Regions from separate parts of the Homo sapiens genome. Here region 1 is linked to region 2. Evidence: promoter capture Hi-C in human tissues and cell types (Jung and others, 2019). All regions are on one chromosome and are shown on one strand. The core of a region is centred on a gene start or on the middle of the fragment in contact, and the rest is flanking DNA. Distances in the headings are between cores, read along the strand shown. Region 1 overlaps LOC112268239 (a long non-coding RNA gene). Region 2 holds the start of CTSS (cathepsin S).

What was found. The method cuts DNA at HindIII sites, captures the fragments that hold promoters and counts their contacts. A contact is called where the count stands out against the background at its distance.
Region 1: a fragment that was not itself captured here is called in contact with the fragment with the promoter of CTSS in region 2 in 1 of the 25 tissues and cell types used here (lymphoblastoid cells).

The regions. Positions count from the first base shown.
Region 1 is chr1:150,631,298-150,635,971 of GRCh38, reverse strand. LOC112268239 (a long non-coding RNA gene) reads right to left here. Exons shown (of 2, transcript XR_007066603.1): 2 at 246-1,141. Among named protein-coding and RNA genes, the nearest start is that of ENSA, 4.0 kb to the right of the region's middle. RefSeq lists enhancers at 1-331, 332-957, 958-1,583. The HindIII fragment of the contact is 5,269 bases long and covers 402-4,674 here.
Region 2 is chr1:150,764,528-150,768,815 of GRCh38, reverse strand. CTSS (cathepsin S) reads left to right here and starts at 3,038. Exons shown (of 8, transcript NM_004079.5): 1 at 3,038-3,118; 2 at 4,052-4,178. The coding sequence starts at 4,053. RefSeq lists cis regulatory regions at 3,092, 3,095 and enhancers at 3,020-3,164, 3,023-3,167, 4,098-4,147. The HindIII fragment of the contact is 11,511 bases long and covers 1-4,288 here.

The DNA.
Region 1 (4,674 bases), core at 1,787-4,286, 130 kb after region 2:
GGTGAAACCCCGCCTCTACTAAAAACACAAAAATTAGCCAGACATGGTGGCGCGCACCTGCAATCCCAGCTACTCAGGAGGCTGAGTGAAGGGGTGGCCTGCCCCTCCACACTTGTGGGCATTTCTTGTCAGGTGGAATGAGAGACTTAAGAAAAGAAGGAGACACAGAGACAAAGTATAGAGAAAGAAAAGTGGGCTTAGGGAAGTGGCGCTCAGCATACAGTGGACCCGCACCGGCACCAGTCTCTGAGTTCCCTCAGTATTTATTGATCATTATTGGGCGTTTCTCGGAGAGGGGGATGTGGCAGGACAATAGGGTAATAGTGGAGAGAAGGTCAGCAGGAAAACATGTGAACAAACGTCTCCGCATCATAAACAAGGTAAAGAAAAAAGTGCTGTGCTTTTGATGTGCATACACATAAACATCTCAATGCCTTAAAGAGCAGTATTGCTGCCAGCATGTCCCACATCCAGCCCTAAGGCGGTTTTCCCCATCTCAGTAGATGGAACATACAATCGGGTTTTACACCGAGACATCCCATTGCCCAGGGACGAGCAGGAGACAGATGCCTTCCTCTTATCTCAACTGCAAAGAGGCCTTCCTTCCTCTTTTACTAATCCTCCTCAGCACAGACCCTTTACGGGTGTTGGGCTGGGGGACGGTCAGGTCTTTCCCGGCCAGCATATTTCAGACTATCACATGGGGAGAAACCTTGGACAATACCTGGCTTTCCTAGGCAGAGGTCCCTGCGGCCTTCCGCAGCGTATTGTCTCTGGGTACTTGAGATTAGGGAGTGATGATGACTCTTAACAAGCATGCTGCCTTCAAGCATTTGTTTAACAAAGCACATCCTGCACAGCCCTTAATCCATTTAACCCTGAGTTGACACAGCACGTGTTTCAGGGAGCACAGGGTTGGGGGTAGGGTTACAGATTAACAGCATCTCAAGGCAGAATAATTTTTCTTAGTACAGAACAAAATGGAGTCTCTTATGTCTACTTCTTTCTACACAGACACAGTAACAGTCTGATCTCTCTTTTCCCCACATTTCCCCATTTCCTTTTCGACAAACCACCATCATCATCATGGCTTGTTCTCGATGGTCGCTGTCTCTTCGGAGCTGCTGGGTACACCTGCAGACTAACAACAGATAAAACAGGCACACAAGGATTAATACGAAATTTATAATAGTAGTACTTCCGATGGTCTTAACCCAAGTGACAGGGTTAAGATTTGCGAGGCCATCAGTCACTCCTGCGATTGCCTCAGTTTCTGGTACCAAATTTAAATGGGCTTTTGATGCTTCGAAAATTGGTTCTCTATCTTAAGAGGAGACTCAGACTTAAATAGTAAGAGAATATTAACCCCAGAGGCAATAAAAGAAATTAAATTAGTGGAACAAAAAATTCAGTCAGTGCAAATAAATAGAATAGATCCCTTAGCCCCACTCCAACTTTTGGTTTTTGCTACTGCACATTCTCCAACAGGCATCACTGTTCAAAATACTGATCTTGTGGAGTGGTCATTCCTTCCTCACAGTACAATTAAGACTTTTACATTGTACTTGGATCAAATAGCTACATTAATTGGTCAGGCAAGATTACAAATAATAAAATTGTGTGTAAATGACCCAGACAAAATAGTTGTCCCTTGAACCAAGGAACAAGTTAGACAAGCCTTTATCAATTCTGGTGCATGGCAGATTGGTCTTGCTAATTTTGTGGGAATTATTGATCATCATTACCCAAAAACAAAAATCTTCCAGTTTTTAAAATTAACTACTTGGATTCTACCTAAAATTACCAGACGTGAACCTTTAGAAAATGCTCTGACAGTGTTTACTGATGGTTCCAGCAATGGAAAAGCGGCTTACACAGGGCCAAAAGAGCAAGTAATCAAAACTCAATATCAATTGGCTCGAAGGGCAGAGTTGGTTGCAGTCATTACAGTGTTACAAGATTTTGATCAACCTATCAATATTGTATCAGATTCTGCATATGTAGTACAGGCTACAAGGGATGTAAAGACAGCTCTAATTAAATATAGCATGGATGATCAGTTAAACCAGCTATTCAATTTATTACAACAAACTGTAAGAAAAAGAAATTTCCCATTTTATATTACTCATATTCGAGCACACACTAATTTACCAGGGCCTTTGACTAAAGCAAATGAACCAGCTGACTTACTGGTATCATCTGCATTCATAAAAGCACAAAAATTTCATGCTTTGACTCATGTAAATGCAGCAGGATTAAAAAACAAATTTGATGTCACATGGAAACAGGCAAAAGATATTGTACGACATTGCACCCAGTGTCAAGTCCTACACCTGCCCACTCAAGAGGCAGGAGTTAATCCCAGGGGTCTGTGTCCTAATGCATTACGGCAAATGGATGTCACGCATGTACCTTCATTTGGAAGATTATTATATGTTCATGTAACAGTTGATACTTATTCACATTTCATATGGGCAACCTGCCAGACAGGAGAAAGTACTTCCCATGTTAAAAAACATTTATTACCTTGTTTTGCTGTAATGAGAGTTCCAGAAAAAATTAAAACTGACAATGGGGCAGGATACTGTAGTAAAGCTTTCCAAAAATTCTTAAGTCAGTGGAAAATTTCACATACAACAGGAATTCCTTATAATTCCCAAGGACAGGCCATAGTTGAAAGAACTAATAGAACACTCAAAACTCAATTAGTTAAATAAAAAGAAGGGGGAGACAGTAAGGAATGTACCACGCCTCAGATGCAACTTAATCTAGCACTTTATATTTTTTAAACATTTATAGAAATCAGACTACTACTTCTGCAGAACAACATCTTACTGGTAAAAAGAACAGCCCACATGAAGGAAAACTGATTTGGTAGAAAGATAATAAAAATAAGACATGGGAAATAGGGAAGGTGGTAACATGGGGGAGAGGTTTTGCTTGTGTTTCACCAGGAGAAAATCAGCTTCCTGTTTGGATACCCACTAGACATTTGAAGTTCTACAATGAACCCATCGGAGATGCAAAGAAAAGCACCTCCACGGAGACAGAAACACCGCAATCGTGCGCCATCGACTCACAAGATGAACAAAATGGAGTCTCTTATATCTACTTCTTTCTACACAGACACAGTAACAGTCTGATCTCTCTTTCTTTTCCCCACAGCTGAGGCAGGAGAATCACTTGAACCTGGGAGGGGGAGGTTGCAGTGAGCCGAGATATCACATCATTGCACTCCAGCCTGGGCAACAAGAATTAAACTCAGTCTCAAAAAAAAGGACAAATGTATAATTTAAATCAATCGTTCCTTTAGCAATCATAGTTTTTACACATTATTCTTAAGCAGAGCTTGGAATTAGAAATAGCTTGATCAGAAAGTATTTCCCAAAAGAATTATTCATCTTTTAGATGAATCCCAAAGTGCTGGGGTTACAGGCGTGAGCCACCACATCCAGCCTCATTCGCCTTTTCTAAAAACATGCTTGAGTCTTGCCTATTCCCCAAAAGAAAATCTGCTGCTACAGCTCTGCCCTTTCCTTGCTTTACTGTTAAATATTGCTACCACTGTTCAATATTGGTACCACCTCCTCGCTCCTTAACGTCTTGCGATTGACCTCTATCACCTCCATCTTTAATTTCTGTATCACATTTAACATTGACAACCTGCCCTCCCTTTCTTCATTTGCTTTCCATGGCTCTTCTCTCTTCTAATTCTCTCCCTACCACTCTGATCATTTGTATGTCTTTTGCCAACTTTTCCCCACGTTTCTGTCTTGGGAGTTTTTTTTTTTTTTTTTTTTTTAAGAGACGGGTTCACTCTGTTGCCTAGGCTGGAGTGCAATGGCATGATCATAGCTCACTGTAACCTCAAACTCCTGGCTTCAGGCGATCCTCTCACCTTGACCATTCAAAGTGTTGGGATTACAGGTGTAAGCCACCGCACCTGACTGGAACCTCTTTTTTTCCTACATTCTCCTTTGTGATCCCATCAACTTCCACAACTTTACTTACATTTATGTGAAAAAGTCCAAAATTTGTACATCTTCAGCGTCTACTTTTCTCCCAAACTCCCACACTTACATTTCCTAGAACCCTTAAATTTCAGATATGGAGATCTTAGAGGTCATTTATCCTAAGTCTTCATTGCCTGGATGTCTCCACCAAATGGTTCATTCGCTTTTAATAAAGTCCATGTTTTCAGGCCGGGCACGGTGGTTCACGCCCGTAATCCCAGCATTTGGGAGGCCGAGGCAGGCAGGTCACCTGAGTTCAGGAGTTTGAGACCAGCCTGGCCAACATGGCGAAACCCTGTCTCTACTAAAAATACAAAAATCAGCCGGGCATGGTGGCGCACACCTGTAGTCGGGAGGCTGAGGCAGGAGAATCACTTTAACCCGCGAGGCAGAGGTTGTAGGGAACTGAGATTGTGCTACTGCACTACAGCCTGGGTGACAGAGCGAGACTCCGTCTCAAAAAAAAAAAAAAAAAAAAAAAAAAGTCCATGTTTTCAAAACTGAATGCCTTATTTTCTCTCTGCTTTTCAGCTCCATTCCCAAATTGACTCCTCTTCTTGAATTTATTGTTTCTATAAATAATCACCTTGAGGCACACAGTCTTCTCATTCTCTATTCAGTCAGCTGCTAGTCTAGTGGATTCCATTGTCACAGACTCTCT
Region 2 (4,288 bases), core at 1,789-4,288:
GATGTCTGATGACATTAAGAAATTATTGTCTTAATTTCTTATGACAATAAAGTGGCTCACACCTGTAAACCCAGTACTTAGGGAGGCTGAGGTGGGCAGATTACCTATGGTCAGGAGTTCGAGACAAGCCTGGCCAATGTGGTGAAACCCCATCTCTACTAAAAATACAAAAATTAGCTGGGTGTGATGGCACATGCCTGTAATCCCAGCCACTTGGGAGGCTGAGGCAGGAGAATCGCTTGAACTCGGCAGGCAGAGATTGCAGTGAGCTGGGATCACACCACTGCACTCCAGCCTGGGCAAGTGAGTGAGACTCTGTCTCAGAAAAAAAAAAAAAAGAAAATTATTGTTCATTTATTTTAGATGTGATGATGGTATTGTGGTATTATATTTGTTTAATAGTCTCTGTCTTTTAAAGACACACACAGGGACATTTACGTATGAAATGACAGAATGTCTAGAATTTATTTAATATAATTCAGGTAGTGAGAGTGGGAATATAAATAAAATAAGATTGGCCATGTACTGATCATTGTTGAAACAAGACAATGGTTTCACGGCAGCTCATTTTACTACTATTTTTACTTTTACATGTGTTTTAAATTTTCCATAAGCAGTATCTTTTTAAAAAAAACTGTATGGCTACAAACACAAACATGTCTACTACAGCTGAGATGAATCAACATTATAATGATGTTACTTCTCCCTAAATTTATGCATATATTCAAATAAAAACTCTAATAGCCAGATGTGGGGGCTCATGCCTGTAATCCCAGCACTTCAGGAGGCCAAGGTGGGCAGATTGCTTGAGCCCAGGAGTTTGAGGCCAGCCTGGGCAACATGGTGAAACCCCTTATCTACAAAAAACAAAAAACAAAATCAGCCAGGCATGGTGGTGTGCACCTGTAGTCCCAGCCACTCCAGAGGCTGAGGCGGGAGGATCACTTGAGCCCAGGAGGTCAAGGCTGCAGTGAGCCATGATTGCATCACTGCACTCCAGCCTGGGTGACAGAATGAAACCCTGTCTCCAAAAGAAAAAAGCAAAAAACTCCAACAGAGTTTTTCAGGGAACTTGATAAACTGATTCAAAAAATTCATATAAAGAAGAGTTAACAAGTACAAAATACAAAGACAATGTTTAAAAAGAAGAACAAAGATAGGGTGGCCTAGATGACTTGCCTTACCATACGTGGAGACATATTACAAAGCTGTTTTAATTAAAACTGTGTGATACTGAAGTAGCAAAAGATAAAAAGAACAGCTTCATGAGCTCAGAAACTGACCTATCTATGTATGAGAATTTGGTGTACAATAGAGGTAGAATCAAAATTGGAAAACAAAGAAAATAAGCTCCCTACGTCATACCATACACAAAACTAAATTCCAGGTGAATTAAACACCTAAAAGCAGTAGCCATAGAAAAGATAAATAAAACACTCTCTGAAAGTATAAAAATAAGATGAGTGTATCTTTATTACATTTGGATGAGGAAAATTTTCTTATACAAAAACAGTATAGATTGATTATACGGAAAAGCTGAATAAAATGTTCTACCTCAACATAAAAAAATTTCATATAGAAAAACTCACTATAAACAAGACTAAAGGACAAGTGGAATTTCATAGGCTTATGCAAAGGAAGAAAAAATAAAATAAAAGACAAGTGGAAGACTAAGGGAGGATGTTTTTAAGGGTATATAACTGTCAAAGATTAGAAGCCAGAATATATTTTTAAAACACATACACCTTGGCCGGGCACGGTGGCTCACACCTGTAATCCCAGCACTTTGGGAGGCTGAGGCGGGTGGATCACGAGGTGAAGAGTTCAAGACCAGCCTGGCCAAGATGGTGAAACCCTGTCTCTACTAAAAATACAAAAATTAGCTGGACATGCTGGCAGGTGCCTGTAATCCCAGCTACTTGGGAGTCTGAGGCAGAGAATCGCTTGAACCTGGGAGGTGGATGTTGCAGTGAGCCAAGATCGCACCAATGCACTCCAGCATGGGAGACAAAGCACGACTCCGTCTCGGAAAACACACAACACACACACACACACACACCTCCCACAAATCACTAAGAAAATGCAACAATACAATAGAAAAATGAGCAAAAAAGATGAACAGGAAATTCACAGAAAATTCAAACGGTCAATAAATGTGTGAAAAGATCCTCAACCTCATTAGTAATTAGGAAAATGCAAATTTAAAAGATGATAGTTCGTCTTGCTCCCACCCCACCCAGGTAATCATTCTCAATTGGATATATTTGAGTGTATCCTTTTTTCCATGAATATACTAACACATACACACACACACACACACACACACGCATATTACTAAACTATACATATAGTATATATTAATAAAGACATTTTGAGTTTGATGAACGAAGGAATGGCTGAGTGAGAACCAGACAATATCAGATCATGAATGAGTTGTGTTAAAAGCAGTAAGACAGGTTTTCCTAGGAAATCATACAAGGAGCTGGGATTTGGGGAGCTTTATCTAAATCTCTTTATAACTAAATGTTTTCCATGTAAAAGTTGGTGTTTTTAAAATTCAATTTAATTTTTTTTTTGAGATAGGGTCTTGATATGTCATCCAGGCTGAAACACAGTGGCATAATCATGGCTCACTGCAGCCTTGTCCTCCTAGACTCAAGCAATTCTCCCACCTCACCCTCCCCCTCAGCTGGGACTACAAGCATGCACCACCATGCCCAGCTAATTAAAAAAAATTTTTTTGCAGAGACAGGGTCTCACTATATTGCCTAGGCTGGTCTTGAACTCCTGGCCTCAAGTGATCCTCCCGCCTCAGCCTCCCAAAGTGCTGGGATTATAGGCATGAGCCACTGGGCTCAGACAAGGGCTCTTCTTGATGGCTTACTGTATCCACTTTGTCCCCAAGACCATAGGGAAATGACTAGAGGTGACTGTACTAGCTAGATTTTAAATGAAACTGAAATGAAAGTTCACTTCCTCATTTTGAGTACCTCATGTGACAAGTTCCAATTTCTTTTCAAGTCAATTGAACTGAAATCTCCTTGTTGCTTTGAAATCTTAGAAGAGAGCCCACTAATTCAAGGACTCTTACTGTGGGAGCAACTGCTGGTTCTATCACGTATGTACTCTTTGTTCTTTTTCTCCCATTTGGTCTTCAAACACTCTGTGTTTGTAACTTGTTCTGCCTGCTAGGTTTTAAATCTTTGGTTTCAGGAAGTAAACTAAAAAATCGTGTCGTTCAATTTGCCTCTTCTCTATTTTTAAAAAGTTAATGTCTGCTTGAGCATCTAAGCATCTAAGTTGAGACTGAAACATGGCTTTCTTTGGAATATAATTTAAAGGCTTACATGTTTAAAATTCCAGATGTTTTCAATTAAAAAGAAATGGAAAAGAAAGTAGAATCCAGTTTGAGGGAGCTAGTCGCTGAATTTCTGTTGATGTCTCTTGAATTAAATACAGAAGTGGCATTTTAAAGAGTAGTTAATTGCCTCATTTGAAACAGATGTCTGATCATTAAAAAAAAAAAAACGTAAAAAGGAAAATTACCTACCTAAAGATGTGAAAGCAATAGATGAGAATTGTCTTTTAACTATCTGTAAAGACTGTGGATATTTAAACAGGTCAGTTAAGAAGAGCCCATGTATTCAAAAATTCAGGAGATAAACTGATTTTTCAGAGGTTTGTCTCTCTTAAGGATGATTTTTTTTTTTTTTTGAGAGAGAGAGAAAGAGATTTCCTTTGATTAGATTTGTTGGCAAATCCTGGAAAGTCCCTGTTTTCTAACCCTCTAGATGTGTTTGGTTTACCAGATATTGGGAAATTCCTGGAAATCACTTTTTAAAGTGCTACTAAGCATTGGAAGTAGTATTTCTGACATAAATCTGCAGCTGTTCCCTGTGACTATATATCCCAGGAATTTTCCTGTATAATTCTGTTTATAATAGTCTGTCCCTTTGATAGACTTTGCATTGTTATTTTCTCTTATGAAAACATGTGGTCACAACATATGCAGCTAATAGCAACACTTCCTATGTTACCTTTCCTTACACAGAATGAAACGGCTGGTTTGTGTGCTCTTGGTGTGCTCCTCTGCAGTGGCACAGTTGCATAAAGATCCTACCCTGGATCACCACTGGCATCTCTGGAAGAAAACCTATGGCAAACAATACAAGGAAAAGGTAGATTGGATTGCCACTCGAGCGATATGCTTTTAAAGGAGTACTGTTTTCTACCTCTTAAAATTGTGTTCTTACAGGCAGTGTTTTCAGTAAATATTTAAGCTGGGTGT